Regions from separate parts of the Homo sapiens genome. Here all the other regions are linked to region 1. Evidence: promoter capture Hi-C in human tissues and cell types (Jung and others, 2019). All regions are on one chromosome and are shown on one strand. The core of a region is centred on a gene start or on the middle of the fragment in contact, and the rest is flanking DNA. Distances in the headings are between cores, read along the strand shown.

Evidence for each region. Contacts are between HindIII fragments. The study calls those that stand out against the background at their distance.
Region 2: a contact is called between a fragment that was not itself captured here and the fragment with the promoter of TNR in region 1, in 3 of the 25 tissues and cell types used here (dorsolateral prefrontal cortex, hippocampus and mesendoderm cells).
Region 3: a contact is called between a fragment that was not itself captured here and the fragment with the promoter of TNR in region 1, in 2 of the 25 tissues and cell types used here (mesendoderm cells and stomach).

Annotation. Positions count from the first base shown.
Region 1 is chr1:175,741,149-175,746,056 of GRCh38, forward strand. It overlaps TNR (tenascin R), which reads right to left and starts at 2,447. Exons shown (of 23, transcript NM_003285.3): 1 at 2,078-2,447. The HindIII fragment of the contact is 10,162 bases long and covers 1-4,053 here.
Region 2 is chr1:175,640,670-175,645,577 of GRCh38, forward strand. The region is part of intron 1 of TNR (tenascin R); the gene reads right to left. Among named protein-coding and RNA genes, the nearest start is that of TNR, 100 kb to the right of the region's middle. The HindIII fragment of the contact is 5,100 bases long and covers 1-4,718 here.
Region 3 is chr1:175,821,708-175,826,615 of GRCh38, forward strand. No RefSeq gene overlaps it. Among named protein-coding and RNA genes, the nearest start is that of LINC01657, 53 kb to the right of the region's middle. The HindIII fragment of the contact is 5,458 bases long and covers 1-4,739 here.

The DNA.
Region 1 (4,908 bases), core at 1,197-3,696:
TATCCAATGGGGAGCAATCCATTCCTTCTCTCCTGCACATGAGCATTACTGCATTTCCTAGGTGAGGGAATATTAGCAGGCTAGAAGTTCTATTTCTGCTTTCGCTATCCTCTGGCTTCCCACTTTAAGCGTCTGTGTCTCTCCATTTATAAAATGGGTCCAATAATGTCACTGAGCACTTTTTTTTCAGAGAAAATTTAAGGGCATTAATGAGATAATGACTACTAAGTATGGTGACTTCAGTAATAAACTGTGGTTTTGGACAGGGTCCACTGCAAGGGCATAATTTTTTAAAAATCCTCAGTGATGTGTCATGCAGAAATCTATCCACTCACTTGTTCAAACTGGAAGATTTCAAGGACAGGAGGTTTGGAATGTTAAAATACTGAATGAGTCAGTGTTGGTTTCTGATGCTCTGCATTTGTCTATTTCAGTCTTTCTTCCCTACCCTTACAACCTCTGACTTCACTGTCTTCCTGGATGCATTCTACTTCCTGCCACTCTAGGGAGATGCTAAGATTTCTGGATCCAATGCCAAGCATAGTAAAAAAGAAAAGTGGTGCCATTTCACTCAGAACTGTGTCTCTCACCCAGAAGGCTCCCCAGCCAGAGGCAGAGAGTATTTTCTTCATCTTGGAGAAGGGGCCCATTGTGCTGAATTAAAAATAAGACAAAGAATCACCATTCTAGGGTCCATTTGGGGTTGGAAAGAGTGAAACCACCCCACCTTGCCTATGTATCTCCCCTGTCTCAACACACTTGAAGAAAGTGACCAGAACCATAAACAGTTAGGGGTTAAATCAAGGGAAGACTTGCTCCTACAAGAAGCCACATCTCTTTCAAGTTCCCTGTAGGATGCTGGCTCCACGGAGACTTGAATGATTGAAGGAAATCCTCAACACCACTTGTTGAATGACTCAACCAGGTAGGTGTGGCCAGGACTGAATGGGGCAGGGGCAGGCCTATAGTGTCTCCAAGACAATACCAAAGCAGATGCAGGGAATTGACTGAACATACTTCAGAGAGGCAGAAAGCAGGAGAGACAGAGTAATACCTTGCAAAAAGTAGCAGCAGTGAAGAAAGAAGTAATAATGAGCTCCTGTTTGCAGAGCCTCTCAGTGCTGGAGGAGAACAGAGTACCACTTCAAGCCCTCCTGAGTCTGGGACAAGTCTAATTTTGTTTCTGCTCACCCTAGACATATAGAGACAAACCTTTATTCTTAGTTGTTTTTCACTGCCAAATGCCCCAGAAAACAGGGCAGAACAGACTTTGTCTTCTTTCCAACCACCCATAGCCAAAGATGGCATAAAAGTGGAGGGTACCTCCTGCCTCCTTGCAAATGTAATATAACCCACACCAGCCAGTCTCTGCAAAGCTCAAGACACTAGCACTTTCCTACCACCATGAAGTCAGAAGGGACCTCAACCCCCCAAAGCCGCCCCAGCCTGAGCTTCACCTGTTGCACCTGCCCACTTACCATGGGTTCACACCAGAAGAGAAAGTAAAAGGTCAGGTTGGGCTCTCTCCACAGCAAGAGCCCAGAGAATACTAGGAAACTGACATTTTACAAAGCACCTCTTTAAAGCTCTCTCAGAGGTGCGTAACTTTTAACTCTACCTCCACTCCCAACCCCCCAGGCTTCCTTTGCAACTCTTTCCCACCATGGATGGCTTGTCGGGAGAGAGTTAAAGAAGGTGCACGACTAATTCCCCAAACCATCTCGCTTATCTACAGACAAAAAGAACAGCCTTACATGGAGACACGCAGAAACCACCCGCAATTTAGCTCAGACCTCACCTGTCTTATGCAACAGTACACACACACACACACACACACACACACACACCCGCAAGGCCAGAGTCCAATCCCCCTTTAATTCGGTAAACATAGTTTTGCGCCTTTCTTTTCCCTACGCAGAACCCGACTCTACTGGCAGCAGAGAAATAGATGTAACCCTAGTGCCAAATGCCTTGCAGAACACACAGATACACAGGAACCAAAATGCATCTCATAGCTCTCCTTGGTGCTGAAATCACGTTAGCCAGAAAATCAAAGGAGCGAGTGCTCTGGACTTACCCAGGCTGGGGGTGGGCGGCCGGGGAGCGAGAGGAGCTTCCTGGGAAGAAAATTCTTGCTTGCTCAGGCTGGAGCCAGCTGATGCGCTCACCTAGAGAGCCCTCCTCTTTCCCTTCTCTTCCCTTCCTCCTATTCTGGGAGGAAGAGACAAGGCTCCACGAAAGAAATGAAACCCAAGCTGTCAGGGCTACGGGTGGAAGGAGAATGAGGAGGCAACCAAAATAAGATCAAAAAGTCAGGTGGCTTCACTCCACTAGTGGTAATTCCTTGGGTCAGAGAGGACCCCCTTCTCTCACTCTCCCTGGGTCTGCCCGTCTCCTCTGGGTGTTGAGCCAACAGCCTTAGCACAGTCGGTTCCTGCCTCTGACGTGAAAGAGAGGAGGAAGCCTGGGACTGCTTTGCTGTCTCTCTCTCTCTCTCTCTCTCTCTCTCTCTCTCTCTCTCTCTCTCACGCGCTCTCTCTTTTCCCCTCTTGCTGAAATTTCAGCAGCATGATTTTTTTAAGCCTCCGTTTTTTCCATCCCCCTACAAGCAGCCCCCTAGTGGACAGAAAAGAAAAGCATCCTAAATCCTCTTGAACAGTCCAGATTCAGGCACAGAAATACTCCCCGCACCCAACTCTTGGAGCTGCCTCTGCATAGGCAGGGTCCTGAAGAAGATAGAGGCTTCCCTCTGACCAACCCAGATAAGAAGAGAAAGGGAGAGGATGGAAGCTTTTGCAGATCCTTTGCCCATGATTGAAGGAGAAATCCAGGGTGGAATGGGTTGGGATAGAATGTTTTGGAATAAGGTCAGTTGTGGGGTTCTCAAGTGGTTTGAGGTCCGGGCTCAGCAGAAGGAACCCTCCAAAAAGTCAGCGTCTGCAGCCAGGTGAAGTATGTGTATACGTAGCACAACCCAGGCATGGGAATGCCTAAAGAGGCAGAGGATACAGGGAGCTGGCCCTTCATCCAACTCCACAATATAGCTTTTTTGTAAAGCTAGTAAGAAAAATATCTGAAAAGATATGGCCTGAGATCATCTCAGAAGTAGAGACAGAAGTGACCTTGATGCACATTTATGGAGAACCTTGGCAGAGAAGGGGCATCAAGGGGTCACTGCTCATAGGCTCATAAGGGATATCTAACATTCTCTTTTAAATGTACAGCCACACAGCCTCCCGGAAAGAGTCCTAATACTTACATCTAAAAATCTGAGTCCTGGTTTCAGACTGCCACTTGCTTACTGGACATTTTGCTTCTCTATGGCTCAATTTTACTGTTTGTAAAATGTGGATAATGCTGCCCCCTCCCTACTGAATAGGAATGCTAAGGGACTGGAATGATATAGAAACATAGAACCTCAGGATTGGCAGGGAATTTAAAGGTAATCTTATACAAACACTCTTCTTATATTTGATTCACTCCTGGCAAATAACAATAGCTAACATTTATAGAGTGTTTATACCAGGTGCTAGGCACTGTTATAAGCCCTTACATGTATTAGCTCATTTAAGCCATACAATAACTCTATAATGCAGAGGCTATTATTGCTACTCTATAGACTGGGAACTGAGTAACAGAGGAATGAAATAACTTTCCAAAGATCACACAACTAGTGAGTGTCAGGGATGGTAATGGAACCTGAGCCATCTGACCCTGGAGCTTCCTCATTGAATTACCATGTTCTATAAATGTACACTTCAGGAGTGACATTTGAAGTAAATAGAAGATAGCACCACAGTTATCATTGCTTTTATTTATGACAAAGTGCCTAGATTGTTACAATAAATTTATATGTGGCTGAGTTTTTAAAATAAAATATTTACCACTAGGGGTGCCAAACAAACTGTGGAAATTGCTATTACCGATGAGAATCTCCTAAGAAAATTAATTCTCTTGGTGATTTGGGTAGTTTCACATATACAAAACTGGCTTTAAATCTTATAAAATTGGAAACTATTGGGTTTTAACATCAGTTCAGAAGACACATCACTCAATTTCTGTACCAAAAGCAAATTATTGCCCACTGCCTAACACAGTGCAAGAACGGAGCCAGCAATTTGAAGAGCTGAAACGTTGTAATGCATTCAGGTAATAAACGCTCAGTGAGAAATTGACATTTTCTTCAGAATCTCAGAATTATGAATTCCTTAGCTGAGGTGGCTTACTTTTTCTGGCTTTTTTTTTTTTTTTGGGTGAAAAGTGGATGAAGTAGGACAAAGATGGTAGGTGACAATTAACAAATCATGGTCCCTGTCCTCAACAGAGTTACCAGTTCCTCAAAGGGGGAAAGAAAGAGCAAGACACAAATGATTACAATTCAAGGACTAAGTGCCAAGAATTTGGGCAGTGAGCACATGGAAAACACAACTAACTTGATCTTTGAGGGCTAGGGGAATTCCTAAGGTATGCAGCATCTAAGCTGAGGCCTGAATAATCAGAAGTCTTCCCAGCAAAAAGTGGGTGAGAGAATTAAGCTGAAGGCATAGCATGTGCAAACTCATGGAGGAGGGAAAGGGGAAAGAGCATAGTAGGAAACTTTCAAAGAAAGTATTACCCTTCCACTGACAAATGGGGAATCTGAGGCTCATAAAAGTTAAGTGGCTTGCTCAAGTTCACACATCTAATAAGTATAGAACCCAAATCAAATGCACATCTATTTGACTCTAAAGTCATCCCCTTTGTGAAGCATGATGATATCTTCTCTCATCACTTAGAAGTGCCCACACCATTTAATAGAGTGTTTCAATAACATAGAAGCTAACATAACCGAGTGAGGGTGTAGCATCTACCAGGAAGCTGGAAGTATGATCTGTTACTATTAGATGAGAAACCCATAAAAAAGGCACT
Region 2 (4,908 bases), core at 919-3,418, 100 kb before region 1:
CCTATGCAAGACAATGCCCTCAGCTACCCTTTAAAGTACCTGGGCTAAGTATTAGTTGTTCACCCATTTCATCTGATCAATAACCTGTTACAACTAAATATATATATGTGTGTGTGTGTGGGTATATATATATATATATATGATAATAAGCCTTAAAATAACTATAAATTACCAGAAACAAAAGCAAATTTTCCTTCTAAGAATTAAATGTGTAACCCCTGTCCTACCAAATAGAAGTGCCTTGTATGAGATTATGTAACTGCCTATGTGCTGCTGGAAAAAGGTAACAACCTAGATTGTTGATGTAGAAATTACTCATCAAGCTGTCTTCTACATTATACATACTCTCACTTTAGTCATTGTGACACATATTTATGTGTTGATATTGTACCTCGATAATAAAAGAACTCAAAGTGCTGATAAAAAGATAAACTATAGAGCAAAATAAAATACATGAAATTTGGAGAAATTGGTTAAATAAAAATAAAGTAGGAAAACAACGCATCTTAAAATGAGGTTAATACATAAAATTTATACCCTGGGGTCATACATACTAGCAAGTGGCCAAACAAACATTTAATTTCAAGCTTTTTACCAGCCAATGGTGGGACGGAGGGCAGGGTTGGAGAGAAGGAGGGGAAAAAGAAAAAAGAGAGAGAGAAAGAAAGTGAGGGAGAGAGAAAGAACATCAATTTTGTGGTTTGCATTGTTCATAAGATAAAAATAAATGAGTTGTCTAGAAGTATCTAAGTGAGAATACCAAATAATTATCCTAAGTGTCCTTATAGGGAGGACATAGTAATGTAAAGATTAATATACTCAATGGCATCTTCTATTACTGTGGAGAAGGTACAATGGGATGGAATGGCTCATGGGGCAAAGAGTTTTTACCCTATCTGTAGGAGAAGGAGGCTGCTCCACAGTGCAGTGACCCTCCTTACATATTTTTGTCTTTAGCTAGGATAAAACAAAAGAAAATAAACTTCCCAAGTCTGACACTGGAATAAAAAAGTACTTTTCACTAATATGGCCCTTTGTTCATAAAGTCAAGTTACAAATGGGCTTGGTGTAGGATCTAGGATCGTGCTGAGGATCCTTTGTATTAAACCAAAGCGGGAGATGTGTTAGTCAATTATTGACTAGGAAAGCCTCATAGCGCAGGTTAAATAAATGAGTTATCCGAGGTGCTGGAGTCTATCAGTACAGGAAGAAAATGTAATTTTCATGCCAATGTACTTCGGTTCAGTTTAAAAGACATTTATTTGGAATCTAATAGGTGTTAGATACTGTTAAGCTAATGCTATGATGATTAATAAAACCCTGTCCCTGCTATCAAGTAGGTCATAATCAGAGGAGACAGAGAGGCAGACCCGGTAATCCTAATCCACAACCATATCATCCTTTAAGGACACTCTGCCAGAAAAGTGAAGGGGCCTGCAACTCAGCCCAAATGGATAAGAAATGACAACCAGAAGGGAAGATTTGTGAACTGAATCTTGAAGAACACTTCCCCCACCACCCGCCCCCAGTCCACAAGGGATAACCAGAGTATGTGAAAAGTGTATAGGCATTGTGTGCACACATACACACACGTGCTATGTGTTTGTGGTGGGGGAGAAAAAGTGTTGCAAACTTAGGAAATAGCATATGCAAAAGCTAGGAAGCATGAAACTGTAGGAAACTTGGCATGTTACTGAAACTTAATGTTAGAGGCAGGGAGTCACAGGAGATTCTTCTGGAGAAGAACCCAGAAGCCAGGTTATGATAGGAACTTGGGCTTTTTGTAAGCAATGAGGAATTACTAAAGTGGTTTAAGTTGAGGAGTGACATGGTCATAGTTACAGTCTATGTCAACCTTGCAGTGCAGTAGAGGAAGGGCTGAGGTTGGCAGCCAGGATGCGGTGCAAGGATTGCGGGGAGAGTGAAGACCTGGAGAACTGGCTAGGCTGTTGTAATGTCTGTCAGAAAGGATGGGGCCTCAGCCTGCTGCGGTGTCTCACACCTGTAATCCCAGCACTTTGGGAGGCCAAGATAGGAGGATCACTTGAGGCCAGGGGTTTGAGACCAGTCTGAGCAACACAGTGAGACCCCATCTTTACAAAAAATAAAAAATTAGCCAGGCGCAGTGGCATGTATCTGTAATTCCAGCTACTCAGGAGGCTGAAGCAGGAGGATCACTTGAGCCCAGGAGTTTGAGGCTGCAGTGAGCTATGATTGCACTATTGCACTCCAGCCTGGGTGACAGAGCAACATCCTATCTCTAAAACCATATATAAGAAATGCACATATATAATATGTAAAAGCAAGTATTGAGCCTAAAATAGGATAATGACAACTGGAAAGAGGGGCAAGTGATAGTTTTGAGAATCACTAGAGAAACGTTAATAGAATTTTATAATCTATTGGGTGAGAGGTGAAGGAAACAATGATGTTTCTCTCATTTCTCATGAGCGATGATGCACTGAGGGAACCCAGAAGGAGAAGCATGTCTATATTCCTGGCCTGCACCTCTTTTCAGATAATGTTGGTCCCTCACACCCAATTCCATAATCACTCCTGATATCCTGGAGTTATGCTCCATGCTCCTCTCAGTTGTAAGAGGACTTATGTGACATCTTATCAGCCTCTGATGAGAAGGCAGTGCTACTGAGTGGGAAGTGTTTGGAAAGGAATCAGGAGTTTTTGGCTTTTAAACCATCACTGGGCCACAGTGGTATTTGTCTCCATGAGTCACCAACGCCCTGTGCCTCAGTTTCTTCATATACACAGTGGAGATTTCCATGGCCTGTTCATCCACCTCATAGTCAATGTGAGAACCAGACACGGTGCTTTGTTGGACAATGCCTTTAAAATATGTATACTATGCAAAGACAAGACGCTGTTATTATTATAGGAAGGGAAAACAAAATAAAGGATGGTTTGTTTGAAGGATCTAGGAAAAAGAAAAATCTAGAAATGCAAGGGTGGTTCTGCAGAGCCTAGAGAACTTTTAATTATTTTCCTTCCTCTTTTCATTTTCTTTTCAGTAGGCAATGAAAATCACATAGAAATATGACCACAGAAATGATGCCAAATTCAATACTCATAATATCTATTCAATATTCAGCAATACACAGGCGATATCACAGATGGTTGTGGGATGTGATGGTCTCTTTCCAATAGTTCCAAAGGGGAAAACAAAATGTTATAAGACAACAACCAGTCATTTGATGCATCCTGATTGTTTAAGTGATATGAAAGTCAGCAATCATGTGCAAATTAAAACATAATTATGCACACAGACCACCCAGGATTAAGTAACATTTCACAGATGCATGGTAAATTACTAAACACCCTCTGAAATAAATTGTGATCATGATTTTCTATTTCCTCAAGAACATTATTACTTTAAAAAGTCAAAGTACAGAAATGTGTATTGCCTAATATGTTAATAGTATGCATGTGATGAGAGATTGTTACTACAAATTAGGGGGTGTGTTAGCTGCTAAGTATTTATGTTACCCCACAGGGTCAGTAAACAATTTATGAAAATGTGCATCAACAGACACATTGTCCAACAGCACGCCATTCCTCCCTTGGCAATGCAGGCTGTTTAGCTCTGAGGTAGCTGGTCTCAGTTTATTGCAGATCTAATCAGTGTCACCTTCTCATAACCCCCAGCTGCAATCAAGAATACGTTTCTCTATCCTTGATGTGAGCTATATTATACCGCAGTCTAACCAGATTATGGCTGTGGGCAGAAAGGCCACAGACGTGGTGGTATTGGAAGTTGGATCCAACAGTTGGAAGATGAAGAAAAACTGAACTGTGTGAGGACATATGTTATAAAGTAGACCAGTGGTTAATTCCTCATTGTCACCATTCCTCAGCAGCCCTCATCCAATTCCACAAAGCTGGACAACTCCAAGGGAAAGGTGACAATGTCCTGGGCCATTTTGTGAATTGTGGCACTGAGGATCTGTGTCTTCTTTTCTATGCAACCAGGCTAGGCAACTCCCCATCAATTCTGTCTTCCTTCTCCTGGCATGGGGCCAGGCACACAGTAAATACTCGATGCATGTTTGCTAAATACAGGAAATCTTAAAACAGGTAGAATCCATTTTCTGGTCTTGAAGTGCTGTGGCATGCTGGGAGTTCCTACTGGAATCCAAGCCTTCATTGAGTAAGTCACACATCTTCTTTCTGTGTCAGATGCCCTGTTTATTTACAGAGGAGGGAAAGAGTGTGTGAAAACTGTTCTTTCTCTCACTTCATCTTTGTGAATAAACTTTAATTTTTTTTACATGATTTAAGCTTTTTCCTTCTTTCAGAGTCTTGGGAATGAGCCATTAGTCAATGATGAAATGAACAAATTAGCAAGTATTTATTGAGTGCTAACTGGGTGTAGAGCTCTGAGTTAAGTATAACTGAATTTTTTATTACAATTTTAGCTGAGAAGATTAAAGAGATACAAATGAAGTAATTTGAAAACAATAATAAAATGACACATTTTTAAATGACCTCAAAATATCTGTATAATTTACATACTGCTTACTTTCAAAACTATTTTAATCAACATACAATAAAACACATATATACATTAAACAATTAAAATAAAAACAACAGGATGAGACCAAGAAAATGAAGCAGAAGGACAGTTATGCTCCAAATTTAGGGATATATAGTTGATGCCACCAGCATGAAGATAGGCTTTAAGATTCCCGGCAGCCATGGTGAAACAGAAAAGGGAGCATTCTGAGGTCTAGGATCTTTGTGATTACTTAAGAGGAAGCATTCTGTTTTGCCAAGAGAAGCAAACATTTTCTTGATATTAAATTCTAAGAGGAATTTATAATGTGGATCTTTGTATCAGGAACATTGAACGACATAATGGACAATATCTTCCACAACAGTTTTTAAAGAAAATGT
Region 3 (4,908 bases), core at 761-3,260, 80 kb after region 1:
TTGTTCAAATGCAGGCCTTTAACCACTTCTATTCATGGGTAGCTCCCAAGCATTATTCCCAGCCCAGGTTTCTAATTCTCAAGTGCAGACGAAGATACTCAAACATATCCAAAACTGAATGCATTAATCTCATCAGAAAGAAGTCCAGTAAAATGGCCAGATAAAACATATATGCAAAAATTAAAAAGACTATTAATCAGAACCCCTTTAACTTCCAGTTTCACCACACCTAGAGACTTCTTAATACTCCCCCAACCACACCTCATCCTTCTTAGATCTCCATTAGCTAAAAAGACACCACTGTACTCAACTGCCTCAGCCAGAGACCATGAAATCTTCAAATACCTTGTCCAGGTTCTGATGACTTCACTAAGCTTCTCTCCTAACTATTTCCTCCTCTCAACCCCCACTACTGCTGCCCTATTTCAAGCCTTCACTGTCTCTCACATGGCTTTACTACAGCCTTTTGCCTTATCCCCCTGTATTTGGTCTCACGTGTTCAGTTTCCATACAAGGATCTCCCAACTGGTAACTAACATTTCCTTCTTTTTCCTACACACCAGCAATTGGTTCTCCCAGTTAAGTTACACTAAATCCACATACAAAGTCTCCATAAATCAAAATAGCCACCTGACAAGTAGGTGCCTCATGCCATGAAGTGTAATGGAAGACTTGGATACAAAAGCAAGGGGGCTTGAAGCACTGCTGGCTGCCCAAGAGGTGAGGGCATCACTGCAAGGGCAGAGGATGCAGAGGGGAAAGTTCTTAGGGCTGATATCTGGTCATGCTTGTTATCCTCTACATAGAGAAATAATACTGGCAGACATTCCCCACCAAATCCTTATTTCCTATCTATATCCTGTGGCCCAACTCTGATTCAACAGACCCTTGATATCTAAGAAACCAACATTATCACCTGCACCATTCACCAACAGCCCTAAAGACCCGTCAAGTGAAGATGTGTAATTTTGCAGAGGCACAAATCTCAACTACATATGCTATGGGGCTTCTTATTCTGCGTGAATCATTTAGCAGTTTGAAAGCCAAATGTCTTGGGGTTGGTGAGTCATGCCCTTGGAATAAAACCTGAGGGCTGAAGTTCAGGATTTGCAGCAAATGACTGAAACCAAAGGGGCCCTGGGAAATTGTCATTCTGGGAGCAAAAAGGAGGGAGGAAACTGAGATGGCAGCACTGCTTTTCACAGGGAATTCCAGGGACAGGAAGACCACCAGGGCAAGAGTGTTTGCCCTGGGGTCAAGACCCCCAGGGCTGGTTTTGGGCAGCTGAGTTCCTGGACCTCTAGTGAAGAAAGAGGAAAGTAGGACAAGCTGATCTGGGCCTCAGACAGAGACCCAGAGCTGGGCTAAGGCAAGTCCCATATGCAGTTTACAACAAGGACCTTAGCTGTTCTGAAATGGACCAACCCAAAGAGACAAGCTAACATCTACTCCCCCCATCAGCATGAAGATTCATATTCCTTTTGTTGTCCAAAGAAGAACTTACTTGGAGCACAGCAGGTCAGTCAGAACCATAACTGGAAGAAATCTGTGTGTAAAAGATCAGCAGGAGTGACACAAAATCCTCAGGGTCCTTGCCCAGAAGATTGATCCTTCAAAAAAGTGAGTCTTATTTGGGCAAAAGTGTCAGACTGCTAATATCCGTTTATTTGTCTGGTTTCTGCTCCATCTTGTATCCAAGGGTGTCTGGATAACTCTACCCAGTGAATAATAAGCCCATTTTATTTATTTAGGGGATTCTGTACTTTGTGGGGATACATTATCCTGGATATCAAATTAAATGCCCATTCACATTGAGCTCAAGTCACATGTCACCAAGGGCTGGGTATAGTAGCCAAGGAAGATGACACCTCCAGGGCTGGGTTTTGCAAGGAAATGAGTTTTAATCATCAAGTTCAGTTTCAACACTTGGAAATCATCCATCTTGATGAGGAAATAAAATCAGCTGATCTTTTATTTTGCTCATTTGAAGGCAATGAGACACTTCTTTGCATCAGATAATAGGCTTGTGACCCCAAAGGACACCTATTCTCACTTTACCATCTCAGCAGCTGTAAGCCCTGAGCAGCACACATGAGCATGAAGGAAAAGGGGCTTCCTTAATGGGCACAGTCAAGGATGGATGGTCTGAGCCAATAGCAGGGTCAGAGATACAGGGAACCCCAAACAGCAATTAATTTTAATTTTAATTTTAATTGGCCTAGGCATACACTGGATGACTTCTTGCACAATAAATCCATCCTCCTAATTATTAGCTTAATTAACTTAATTATCAGTTAGTCTAATATTTAAGTTAGTTGGTATTCTCTAAGTTATTCATAGTGCAAAAGGGCCCATGAGCATGCAAGGTCAAGAGGCCTGGGGCTGAGGTCACACTGATGGGTAACTGGGAGTTGACAGGCATTCCCAATGAGAACATCAGGCATGCCACTGACCTGATGTAAACCAGCTAAACAGGGCTCTGGGTCAGCCAGGCCCCTATCCTCTCCAGTTATCTTCGGGAGAGTTTTTCTCAAGGGTGTTGATCATCACTGAATTGAGGGAAGTTGCCCTATGTCACCATGCTGGTGCTCGCCTCCATGCCCTTATTCATCCTGCCTGTGGTACCCTTAGCCTTAAACTTCACTGAACTGTCTCCTACCCAAACTTTATGACTCAGCTCAGTGACGCCTCCTGCTGGCAGCTGTCTCAATGGGCTTGCTAATCAACTGTTCATGTATCAGTAGCACCCAGCACATTTACCTGTGGGGCAATGCACTCTATAAATATTTGATGAAGAAATGAATCAATTATTGTGTGCTTAGCACTTTTTACATTTAAAGTAATAGCCTCTTGTCTTATTTATCACTGTCAGTATGGTGAACCCCTTGAGGATAGGAAACTTATTCATTTTTATGTTCCTGCTCTTAATAATGAATGCCACAGAAAAAGTACTTAATAAATGGGGGCAGAGCCCACCTATCTCCACCCTAGGAGACTGACTTTTTTGCTAAGTAAGATAACTTTTGTGTGAACCTTCTTGGTGTATAAAGTATTTTCATGTGTCTTATCATTGTTTATCCTCACTGGGACTGGGGATGAAGGAGAGTGTATATGGGGGGCAGGGGTGGTGGGGGTGACTGTGAGTTAGATACTTTCATTATTCTCATCGTACAGATGAGGAAACTAAAATTCATGAAGTTACATGGCTTGCACATAATCACAGGCTCATAGGTGAAACAAGAAGTCTATCTGGATTTCCTGACTCTAAATCTACACTCGGTTATTTTCTAATCAACAGCCAAAGTTTGTTCCCATCTCTTAACCACAAGTCCTATCTCCCAGTTATACTCTCCTATCAACCGGCTATGAACTAATGTCCATTTAGAGGTTAACTCATTGCAGCTTAAGGGTTGAGATAAAGCACATACAGGGGAGTTTGACTTTCAAGATGATGATACTGAAAATTGATGTTCAGAAAGGAATGAGCTTCAAGTGCAAGAATTTTAGACACATGGCCAGGTGAGGAGAAGTTGATGAATAGCTATAGGCAGTAACCTGAGAGACCAGGTTAGCCATTTTTATGTATGCTATGTAAAATGACAATATTAGTCATTTATTACTGCATATCAGATACTCCTTAACTTAGCAGCTCCCAAGAACAGTAAACATTTATTATTGCCCACAGTTTCTAAGTGTCAGGACTCTGAAAGTGGCTTAGCTGGATGGTTCTAGCTCAGGGTACCTCCTGAAGTTCCAGTCAAGCTGCCAGCCAGAGCTGCAGGCAGTCACTGGGAGGCTTGAAGGAGATTGAGGATCCATTCCAAGATGGTTTACTCACACGGCTACCAGCTGTTGGTAGGAGTTATAGGTCCTTCCTATTTGGAACTCTCCAGGGACTACTTGAGTGTCCTCAGACCATGGGGGCTGGCTTCACTCAGAGTGATCCAAGAGATAGTAAGTGATGGGGTTCAGGACACACTACCTTCAAGTATGGCACCTTACCATTTGAGAAAATAGCAGAAGCAGGAAGATCTCTTTGACTTTCCCCTTTGACCTTCTCCCCTGAAGCTGGTCATGAAAGAATTATCTGACCTTCCTTTCTGAAGTAGGTCATAAGACCCTTATTCCAGAGATACCCTCCCTACAACCAGAGGAAAGGAACATACTTATCTTCAAAGACACAGAAATGCCAAGAAGAATCTGAACAAACCGGTCTTGCTAAGTTCCTCCCAGTTGATCACTAGTAGATCACCCTTTTGTTCTCCAATCATAATTCTCCACAGTTCTCCATTTCATCAAACTTGGTGTAAAAATGCACAAGTTTACCTGTTTCTTTGGACTTCATTTCTGAAGGCTCCCATGTCACATTAATTTAAAAAAAAAAAAGACAACTTATGTTAAATAAATCAAAAGGTGAGGGTAGAGGGCAATGAAGAAAGATTGATTAAGGGGTACAAATATACACTTAGAAGAAATAAGACCTAATATTCAGTAGATCAGTAGGGTGACTATAGTTAACATTAATCTATTGTATATTTCAAAATAGCTGGAAGAGAATAATTTGAATGTTCTTAGCATATAGAAAAGATGAATATTTAGGTTGATGAATATTCCAATTACCTGATTTAATTACATGAGTGTATCAAATTATCACATGTGCCCCGAAAATATGTATATCCAATATGTATCAATAAGAATAAATAGGCTGGGCGCAGTGGCTCATGCCTGTAATCCTAGCACTTTGGGAGGCCAAGGTGGGTGGATATCTTGAGGCCAGGAATTTCAGACCAGCCTAGCCAACATGGCAAAACTCCATCTCTACAAAAAATTTAAAAAAAAAGATCCAGGCATGGTGGCATGCGCCTGTAAGTCCTAACGACTCGGGAGGCTGAGGCATGAGAATCACTT